Linked DNA regions of Homo sapiens: region 1 is linked to region 2. The links are contacts of gene promoters, found by promoter capture Hi-C in blood cells and fetal thymus (Javierre and others, 2016). All regions are on one chromosome and are shown on one strand. The core of a region is centred on a gene start or on the middle of the fragment in contact, and the rest is flanking DNA. Distances in the headings are between cores, read along the strand shown. Region 1 holds the start of PLD6 (phospholipase D family member 6). Region 2 holds the start of LINC02090 (long intergenic non-protein coding RNA 2090).

Region 1 (5,412 bases), core at 2,876-5,375, 220 kb before region 2:
AGGCTGAGGCAGGAGAATCACTTGAGCTCTTATATATTGTGGAAATTAACCCCTTATCTGATAATATAGTTTGTATAAGCTTTTAAAAAATAAATTGTATATATTTAAGGTATACGACATGATGTTAATGACATACACACACATATTAAAATGGTTATTATAGCCAGGCACTGTGGCTCACACCTGTAATCCCAGCACTTTGGGAGGCCAAGGTGGGCGGATCACCTGAGGTCAGGTGTTCGAGACCAGCCTGGCCAACATGGTGAACTCCCATCTCTACTAAAAGTACAAAAATTAGCTAGGCGTGGTGTCAGGCACCTGTAATCCCAGCTGCTCAGGAGGCTGAGGCAGGAGAATCGCTTGAACCAGGGAGGTGGAGGTTGCAGTGAGCTGAGATGGCCCCATGGCACTCCTGTCTGGGCAGCAAAGCGAGACTCTGTCTCAAAAAATAAAAAATAAACACAAACGGCCAGGCACGGTGGCTCACACCTGTAATCCCAGCACTTTGGGAGGCCAAGGTGGGCGGATCACCTGATGTGAGGTGTTCGAGACCAGCCTGGCCAACATGGTGAAACCCCGTCTCCACTAAACATACAAAAATTAGCCGGGCGTGGTGGTGGGTGCCTGTAATCCCAGCTACTCTGGAGGCTGAGGCAGGAGAATTGCTTGAATCTGGGAGACGGAGGTTGCCGTGAGCCAAGATCACGTCACTGCTGACAGAGCAAGACTCCATCTGAAAAATAAATGAATAAAAAACTAGGCCGGGCACGGTGGCTCACGCCTGTAATCCCAGCACTTTGGGAGGCCGAGGAGGGCAGATAGTGAGGTCAGGAGATCGAGACCATCCTGGCTAACATAGTGAAACCCCATCTCTACTAAAAATACGAAAAATTAGCTGGGCGTGGTGGCGGGCACCTGTAGTCCCAGCTACTTGGGAGGCTGAGGCAGGAGAATGGCGTGAACCTGGGAGGCAGAGCTTGCAAAGTGAGCTGAGATCGCACCACTGCACTCCAGCCTGGGCAACAGAGCAAGACTCCGTCTCAAATAAATAAATAAATAAATAAACTAATAACTAAATGTTGTAACACAAAAGAGGATAAATGCTTAAGGTGATGGATATCCTGTTTACCCTGATGTGATTATTACAAATTGCATGTCTGTACCAAAATATCTCATGTACCCGATAAATATATATACCTACTATATACCGACAAAGTTAAAAATAGAAACTGGAAGACAAAAAATAAATAAAAATCAAATAAAGCTTCTCATTTTGTTGTCTGCCTTTGGTAGATTTCCAGCCCTGAAGTGGCTGTTTTTGAAAACTGTTTTCCCCCAGTTTTATTTTTGTTTATCCCTCTCTGGAGGGATTTGAGTCCTTCTTTATACCTCCACAACTCCAAGTCCCTCCTCTCATTATCGTTTTAGATGAGGAAAGTGAAGCTCAGAAGAGATGAATCAATTTGCCCTAGACCATGCAGCTAGGAAGCCTGGGAGCCAGCACTAAACTCAAGTGTTCTTTTTCTTTGTTAAGAATTTTATTCGCCAGGCACGGTGGCTCACACCTGTAATTCCAGCACTTTGGGAGGCCGAGGCAGGCTGATCACGAGGTCAGGCGATCGAGACCATCCTAGCTAACACGATGAAACCCCGTCTCTACTAAAAATACAAAAACAAAAATTTAGCCGATGTGGTGGTGTGCATTTGTAGTCCCAGCTACTTGGGAGGCTGAGGCAGGAGAATTGCTTGAACCCAGGAGGTGAAGGTTGCAGTGAGCCGAGATCGTGCCACTGCACTCCAGACTGGGCGACAGAGCGAGACTTCATCTCAAAAAAAAAAAAAAGAAGGCCGGGTGCGGTGGCTCACGCCTGTAATCCCAGCACTTTGGGAGGCCGAGGCAGGTGGATCACGAGGTCAGGAGTTCGAGACCAGCACGGCCAAGATGGTGAAACCCCATCTCTACTAAAAATACAAAAATTAGCCGGGTGTGGTGGTGGGCGCCTGTAATCCCAGCTGCTCGGGAGGCTGACGCAGAGACTCACTTGAACCCCGGAGGCAGAGGTTGCAGTGAGCCGAGATCGCACCACTGCACACCAGCCTGGGCGAAAGAACGAGGCTCCGTCTTAAAAAAAAAAAAAAGAATTTTATTGACATAATCACTGACATACATTTTTAGTTATTTACACCATACAATTTGACATATGTATATACCTGTGAAACCACCACAGTCAACCCGATAAGCACACATCCATCACTCCACTTCCTTGTGGCTTTGTTGGCCTCCAGGCTACACTGGTCTGCTTTCCCTCAATCTAGTTTGCATTTTCTAGAATTTTATGTAAATGGAATCATACAGTATGTACTCTTTTTGTCTGGCTTTTCCCACTCAATATTAATGAAATTCATCCACGTCGTAGCACATGTGAGTACTGTTTTTTTTTTTTTTTGGTGGGGGGGGGATAGGGTCTTGCTGTGTCACCCAGGCTGGAGTGCAATGGCATGATCTTGGCTCACTGCAACCTTAGTCTCCAGAGCTCAAGCGATTCTCCCACCTCAGCCTCCCGAGTAGCTGGGATCACAGGCACGTCAGCGCACTCAGCTAATTTTTGTATTTTTTGGTAGAGACAGTGTTTCACCATGTTGGCCAAGCTGGTTTCGAATTCCCGAACTCAAGCTGTCCTCCTGCCTCAGCCTCCCAAAGTTCTGGGATAACAGGCATGAACCACCGTGCCAGGCCACTTCATTCTATTTTATTGCTAAATAGCATTCCCTTGTACAGATATACAAAAGCTTATTTACCTGTTTACCTGCTGACGCCTTTTTGGGTTGTTCTAGGCACATACGCCTGCCAGGACACGTGCTTGTGTTAATGGATCCCGCCCTTTCTCCTAGGAGTGGGATAGCTGGATCATATGGAAGGTGCAAGTTTAATATTTTAATAAACTTTTAATTTAGAATAATTTGCTTTACAGAAAAGTTTCGAATATAGAACAGAGAGATCCATTTACCCCCACGCAGCTTCCTTTGTTAACCTTTTACATTCCTTTCATACATTTGTCAAAGCTAAGAAACTGACATTGGTACAATGCGATTAAGCTCCAGACTTTATTTGGCTCTCACCAGTTTTTCCGTGAATGTCTTCTTTCGGTTCCAGGATCCAGCCCAGACCACCACATTGCCCCGTTTCCCTATGCCCCCGGCCCAGTGCCCTCGGCTGCCTTAGTCTCTTCCTCTGTTTATGCTTAAAGCAGGGCAGGCCTTCCAACAACGCCGGCTGGAAAAAACCTCTTGGGCTAGGAAAAAACCTCTGGGCCGACACCGCCTCCAGTATGCTGGGTTCCAATGCTGCCTCCAGCTGTGTTGATTCCCTGATTATCTGTGTTCCCAGGTCATTCCCCAGCCCAGCCTAGCTGCTCCCGAGAAGACAGTGAAGGTGTGACCCCACATTTCCAGAGCAGCTCTGCTGTGCTCCATGCGAGGAAAGCCGGGGTTGCTGTGGCTTCTAGCGCGGAGAGCGGTCTCTGGCCTGGGCAGGTGACGGGTGTGCTAGGGCCCGTGGCCCGCGGGTGTGCAGGTGCTGCCTGGTGGCGCGGGCTTGGGGACGTGGCTTGGCACGTGGTGGGAGGTGGAACCTGGAGGGCGTGGCCGAGCGCCTGGCTGGAAGGAAAATGGGGGGCACAGCCTGGCGTTGGGGGGTGGAGGGTGTCTGTGGCAGGGGGCGTGGCCTGGCGCGTGGAGGGAGGCGTGGTCACCTGTTGAGGGTTGGGGGCGGGCTGATGGGAGGCGTGGGTTCAGCTTGGTGCGTGACAGTTGTGGGGGCATGGCGCGGCCTAGCGCGTGGCCCTCGGGGGCTGAGGGCGTGACCTTGCACGTGGCCGTTGGTGGGGCGTGACGGGGGCGTGGCCTGGCGTGTGGCCATGGGTGCTGGGCGTGGCCTGGCACGTGGCCTGGCACGTGGCCGTTGGCGCTGCGTGACGGGGGCGTGGCCTGGTGCGTGGCAATTGGCAGGACGTGATAGGGCGTGGCCTGGCGCGTGGCCATGGGGGGCTGGGCGTGGCCTGGCACATGGCCGCTGGCGGCGCGTGACGGGGGCGTGGCCTGGCGGTCTAGGGCTGGGGGCGCGCAGACTCCGCTGCGGCGGCGTGGCTGTGGGTCCCGGATTAGCGGCGGCATGGGACGGTTGAGTTGGCAGGTGGCGGCCGCGGCGGCTGTGGGCCTGGCTCTGACTCTGGAGGCGCTGCCTTGGGTGCTGCGCTGGCTGCGGTCCAGGCGGCGGCGGCCGCGGCGCGAGGCGCTGTTCTTCCCGTCTCAGGTGACCTGTACCGAGGCCCTGCTGCGGGCTCCGGGCGCGGAGCTGGCCGAGCTCCCCGAGGGCTGCCCGTGCGGCCTGCCCCACGGCGAGAGCGCGCTAAGCCGCCTGCTGCGTGCCCTGCTGGCCGCCCGCGCCAGCCTGGATCTCTGCCTGTTCGCCTTCTCCAGCCCGCAGCTGGGCCGCGCCGTGCAGTTGCTGCACCAGCGTGGGGTGCGAGTGCGGGTCGTCACCGACTGCGACTACATGGCCCTCAACGGCTCGCAAATCGGTCTGCTGCGCAAGGCAGGTAGGCCCGGCGGGGTCCAAGCGGAGAAGGCCGGCTTGGCCCACGCGGGGTCCTAGGCGCAAAGGTGGACACTTAGGGGAGGGGGTCTGGGGACGGGCTGAGGCCTCATTTACTTTCCTCGTGGCCTTGTGGGGTCGGGGTGGTGTAACGCGGAGAAAGCAGAGCCCCCACAGAAGGTCTAGCCGGCTGCGTGGGCATAAGCGAGCCGGACCCTCGGTGCCTCCGCGGTGGGGGCGGTTCTCTCAGTGAACTGTCCCGGCATGCTGGAAGCAGGTGGGCCTGCGTGTGCCGGGTTAGAGGCGGAGCAGATTCCCCTAGCAACTCCTCGGGCGCCGCCGGCGGAGTTTTCGTGACTGCTGCAGCCCGGGCCCGCCCTCCTACGCTGCCGGAGATCCCCGGACGGCCTCTGGTAACCTGGATCCTGGTGGCAGGGGAGCTGGACGCCAGGGTTGTGCTTGGACTTCCAGACTGAAGGGCTCTGGGGAGAGGCGGCCACCTGCTGCCCAGTGAATCTCAGGCCACTGGGCTCTGGGAGACCTGAACATGTTCTAGAAAGCAGCGCCAGGACATTCGGTTGTTTTCCCAGCTGCAAAAGGAGGGGAACACATATTTCTGGCGGGGGCGCCTCTCTCATGGGGTGGGGACAGAAGGGACCAGGAAATGTGAATAATTGGGATCCTTGTCCCACCTGAGGATTCTCAGTCCATCCTGGCCCAGTTCGGCGGCCCAGCCTGCTGTTGCCTTTTGTGTATCTGCACTCACAGACTCTTGGGCCTGTCTCTGTCTCCATCACTCAGGCACCCAGAAAGTCACG
Region 2 (4,932 bases), core at 1,935-4,434:
TGTGGGCTGTGTCCGGGTGTGGGCGTGTGCGCAGGGGGTGTGTGTGTATGGGGTGTGCCTGTGGGGTGTGTGAATGTCTGTGTGGGGTGCCTGTGGGGTGTGTGTGTGTGGGGGGGGGAGTGTGCCTGTGGAGTATGTGAGTGTGTGTGGGGTGCCCGTGGGGTGTGTGAGTGTGTGGGGGGTGCCTGTGGGGTGTGTGGAGTGTGTGTTTGGGGGGTGTGCCTGTGGGGTGTATGAGTATGTGTGGGGTGTGCCTGTGGGGTGTGTGAGTGTGTGTGTGGTGCCTGTGGGGGGTGTGGGGTGTGTGAGTGTTTGGGGGCTGTGCCTATGGGGTGTGTTTGTGTGGGGGGCTGCCTGTGGGGTGTGTGGGGTGTGTGTTTGGGGGGTGTGCCTGTGGAGTATGTGAGTGTGTGTGGGGTGCCTGTGGGGTGTGTGGGGTGTGTGTTTGGGGGGTGTGCCTGTGGAGTATGTGAGTGTGTGGGGGGTGCCTGTGGGGTGTGTGGGGTGTGTGTGTTTGGGGGGTGTGCCTGTGGGGTGTGTGAGTGTGTGGAGAGTGTGCCTGTGGGGCGTGTGGGGTGTGCATGTAGGGTGTGTGTGAGTGTGTGTGAGAATCAGAGTGTGTGAGTGTGGTGCATGTGTGAATGTGTGTGGGGGTGTGTGTGTGTGTGTGTGAGTGTGCATATACCTGAGCTCTTTCGGCTAGAATGGGAGGCTTTCTGATGAGGTGATATTTGAGATATCTGACTGAAGCAGTGGGGGGCAGGGGGATGACCGGGGGCGTTGGGGAAGAGCATTCTGAGCAGAGGGAACAGCAGCTGCAAAGGCCGCAAGCAGGCCCTGCCTGATGTGTTTGGGGAACCTAGGCTGGGGTGGAGAGAGCCAGGGGGGAGGACAGAGAGGCAGTAGAGGCAGGGCAGGCAGGGCCTCCAGGCCAACAAAGGCTGGTGAGCTTTATTCTGAGCAATCCCTGTGCATTCCAACAGAGTTAACCCATAAACACTTCCCAGAGACTCCTGGAGCTTAGAGGAAGGACAGATGGCTTCAGGCTTGGGGCAGAGTGGAGGAGAGCAGCCAAGACAGGATGTAGTGTGATTGGGCTGGGAGGCAGGAGATGACATTGAGAGAGTGCCTCTGAGCAGGGAGGTTCCCTGAAGACCTTTCTGCAGCTGGGCACCCGCCCCTGGGCACCTGTCCCTGGATACCCTTCCCTGACATGTTGACCATGTTGACCAAAGTGAGATTGGGCTTCGCCCTCCTGGCAGCTCCATCACCATGGCCAGTTTTGGCTCAGTGCCTGTGATGGAACTTTCTGGGATGGTTGGAGGCGGTCTGCATCCATGCTGTCCAGAAGGCAGCCACAAAGCACAAGTGCACTGCTGAGCACCTGAAATGTACCTGATGGGGCTGAGAAGCAAGATTTTAAGTTTAAATCTCCACAAGACACTAGCAGCCACTTGTAGCATGCGAGCTGCATGAACGGATTCTGCCGCATGGCTCCTCCTTGGCTTTAGCCAGGTAGCACTCAGGTCAGCGCTACCCATCAGGGCCTTGCCTCATTGACTTCTGCCATGCCCAAAACCAGCTGTTTGGTCTGGGCCACACAGAGGCCCCACGGCTGACTCACCACACCCCTCATCCTGAGTGAGCGGTCAGCAGATCTTTCCTTTCCACTGAGAACGTGAGTTTCAGCGTGCACAGGAGTCTTGGTCTTGGCTGCCCAGTTAGTCACGTGGCCGCCCTAAACATCTGCTCCTCCTGTGCCAGGAGTGGAAGGAGCAGCTCAAAACCAAGCCCCATGCCACAGCAGGTGGGCCCACCTGAGATTAGCACCTCCCTTTCCACCAGGAGCCAAGAATACCCAGGTTGCTCATTTGAACCCATATGGTGAAGTTTCTCTCTCTCTCTTACTCTCTCGCTCTCGCTCTTGCTCTCTCTCTCTCTGTAATTTATTCTGTAATTTCGGTTTTCAAAAACAAAACCCTTCCATAGTACAAAGTTCTCAGACTGGGTGCTGTCTCCAGTGAGTTCCTTGTAAAACAAATACGTGTTGCTTGTGGTTGTACAAGTTGCACAGCTACGCCAGGAGGAAGTAGACAGCTGTGAACGAGCTGGGGCCACACCTGCTTTGTGGTGGGGCTGTCCCTTGCATCCTAGGATGGTTGGGAACATCCCTGGCCTCTACCCCCAGATGCCAGTAGCAATCCCTCCCACCCCCATCATTGAGACACCCCAGATGTCCCCAGCATGGCCACATGTCTCCTGACAGTGAAGGCAGAAGCACTTTGGTTGAGAACCGCTGGTGCAGAGCAGAAATGGCCTGATGAGAAGAGGGATGAGAGGCTGAGGTGCCTGCAGTCTCCCCTCTGTGTGTCTCCAATCCACTTTTGTGTTTTACATATGTAGGGAGGCATTATGAACAATGTCTAGTGCTATGTTGGGGTCCGTGTTTAAAATGTACTTACGTGCAGCTGTGCTCTGCCCTGCCTGTCCGCGCTCGTTGCTGTGTGGCTTGTGTCTTTGACCTGTTCTGTGATGCTCCATTACAAGAGCACATTGCATCACATTCATCCCTTTCCCGGTTACTATATCAGGCAGGACCTGGGCAGGAAACAGTGGTGCGGTCAACATGAAAAAGAGCTGAATGGACAGACTTTAGCAAAGCGTAGGCAGGGCTGACAAAAACAGTGCCACGTTGTCTTCCTGGGGTTCATGGTTTCAGATGCTGCTGCAGGGACTGTCTCTGCTCATGGCTCCTAGTGTCCATGTGCAGAAGCATCTCCAAAGGCCCTTGCAAGGGGACTCACTGGGGCCAGGTTATCCACAAACACCGTGATACTCAAAATCTAGTTTTACCCTAAGGAGGTAGGGGATGACTCTTTGGATCTAGAAGTGAAGGCACCTCCTAAGGGAATTTATCCTGAGTCACCTCCTCCTGGCAACTCACCCAAGGACTCCCCATGGGGCTTCCTCACACAGAGATATCCCCTACCATAGGAAAAAGACTCCTGGGTCCGGCCTCAGCTCCCTCTCGTTGGCTGTGCCTGTGTTTCTCACTCATCTGGCCAACCCACAGAAGTGGGTGGAGCCGGGTCTGTGCTGGGCTCTGGGGAGCATCTGACGAGTCACTGCAGAAGCAGCACTTTCTGCAGGAAGAACAGAAGTGTCTGCCTGTCTCTCACTTCCTTTTTGGGGCCTGGGAGGGTTGGCCTGTGAGTGGCCAGCTGCTATTTATGGGGCTCGACTGCTCTGTGTGAAACCCCAGTCTCTCTCGAGAGGGAAGAGTAGTGGGAAAGGGTGGTGCCAGGTGACATTGCCCCTGGTCTGGGGTACAATCAGCCCAGGTGCAGCGGTCACAACGTCAGAGTAGGGGGTGTAGCTCAGGGGTAGAGCATTTGACTGCACAACGTCAGAGTGAAACCCATCTAGGTCAGGATGGACGTGATGGGTTTCCTAACAAATCAACTCTGTGTTCCTTGTATTTGTAGACGCTCAGTGTATAGAGTGGGCTTTTAGTTGGGTGACCACATTCCAACCCCCCTGATTTGGACAGAAGGGGAAACTGAGGCCCACAGAGGCTAAGTGCCTAGTCTGAGGTCACATGCTGAGCTTGGGACATCAAGAGGACTAGAGTCCATAGTCTGGACTCTCATTCTAGTGCTCTGCCTTTTCATGGGGGTGGCAGGGTCACCCGTTTGGCGCAAAATTAAGCTGAGTTTCAAAGGCCACTGAGCATCTTCCCCAGCCCCAGCCATTCTCAGGGTCCTGGGAGGAGGACAACTGTCTCCTGTATTGTCTTGAACCCCTGGTGGATGGGCGGGGCAGGGGGTAGGAAGGGGCAGAGAAGGGGCTGTCCAGATGTGACACATCTGGAGTCTCCACATCTGCCCCAGGGGTGATGAACAGAGCTGCCCTCTCCCGCCTGTTCATGGTGGCCTTCGGTCATCTTTAGTTTTGTACCACCCGGGTTGCTTTTGGGTGTGCCTTGTGACCTGTTCTCGCTGGAATGAAATGGCCTGTGCATTCCTCCCTTCCTCCTCCTCCCTCTCCACCTCCCTCCCTCCCTCCTCCCCCATACGTGTACTGAGCCCATACTCTGTGCCCCTTGCCTTTGAGATGAATGGCCGGGGCTGTCCTAACTGAGGAGGCAAGATTTGGGCAAGCTTCCTGGGAGGCAAGCAGTCACCCAAGCACACATCTGGGCAGAGAGCATTCCAGGCAGCGGAACAGCACAGAGGGGAAGTTGTCAGCATTGGCCTGGTGTGAGCAGGGGAGAGTGGCAGAGGGCTCAGGGAGAGAAGGCCCAGGTTCAAGGCCCAGGGCCATTATAAAGATCCAGTGTTTAGTCAGAGCAGCTGGGGAGTGGCAGAGGTTCCTGGGCAGTGGAGGGCTCAGCTGTGGCTCAGGTGCTAACAGAGTACATGGCACCTGGGGGTGGGGGGGCCTCTGAGAAGGGGCTGGTAGGGGGTGGCTTGAAGCAGGCCTGAAGGTGGTAAGTGCTCAGATGATTTTGGTCATATTTTGAACGTAAAGCCAACAGTGTTTGCTAATGGATTGGTGGAAGGGAAGGAGACAGGGAGAGAAAGAGAAGTCAAGGATGACTCCGGGTACTTAGGGCCTGTCTTAGTTTTAGACCCAACCTCACAATTCTGGTGGGCATTGCCCTAATGGGGGCTATCCCTCTGTGGCATTCTTTGAATTCAAGGGGAGGCAGCCATACCCCCAAAGCTCTTGCACTCTGTGTGCCTGCAGAATTAGCAACACATGCATGCTGCCAAGGCTCACAGCTTGCACCCTTTGGAGCAGCAGCCCAAGCCACACCTGGGCCCATTTGAGCCACAGCTGGGGTGGCCAAGGAGCATCGTGCCAAAACACAAGGAGTAGAGACCCAAGGCAGCCAGCCCCTGGCCCATCCCCCCAAATCATTCTGCCCTC

The links. Contacts are between HindIII fragments. The CHiCAGO score rates a contact against its expected background, and 5 or more counts as called.
Region 1: a contact is called between the fragment with the promoter of PLD6 here and the fragment with the promoter of LINC02090 in region 2, in 10 of 17 cell types (total B cells, M2 macrophages, M0 macrophages and 7 more). The highest score is 11.2, in total B cells.

The regions. Positions count from the first base shown.
Region 1 is chr17:17,205,046-17,210,457 of GRCh38, reverse strand. PLD6 (phospholipase D family member 6) reads left to right here and starts at 4,125. Exons shown (of 2, transcript NM_178836.4): 1 at 4,125-4,598. The coding sequence starts at 4,172. RefSeq lists silencers at 3,817-3,866, 3,907-4,156, 4,277-4,326, 4,347-4,466 and enhancers at 3,092-3,931, 4,987-5,106. The HindIII fragment of the contact is 11,264 bases long and covers 2,793-5,412 here.
Region 2 is chr17:16,986,581-16,991,512 of GRCh38, reverse strand. It overlaps LINC02090 (long intergenic non-protein coding RNA 2090), which reads right to left and starts at 3,184. Exons shown (of 3, transcript NR_146886.1): 1 at 2,990-3,184; 2 at 2,463-2,598; 3 at 1,337-1,404. RefSeq lists enhancers at 2,842-3,061, 3,694-4,524. The HindIII fragment of the contact is 6,040 bases long and covers 1-4,162 here.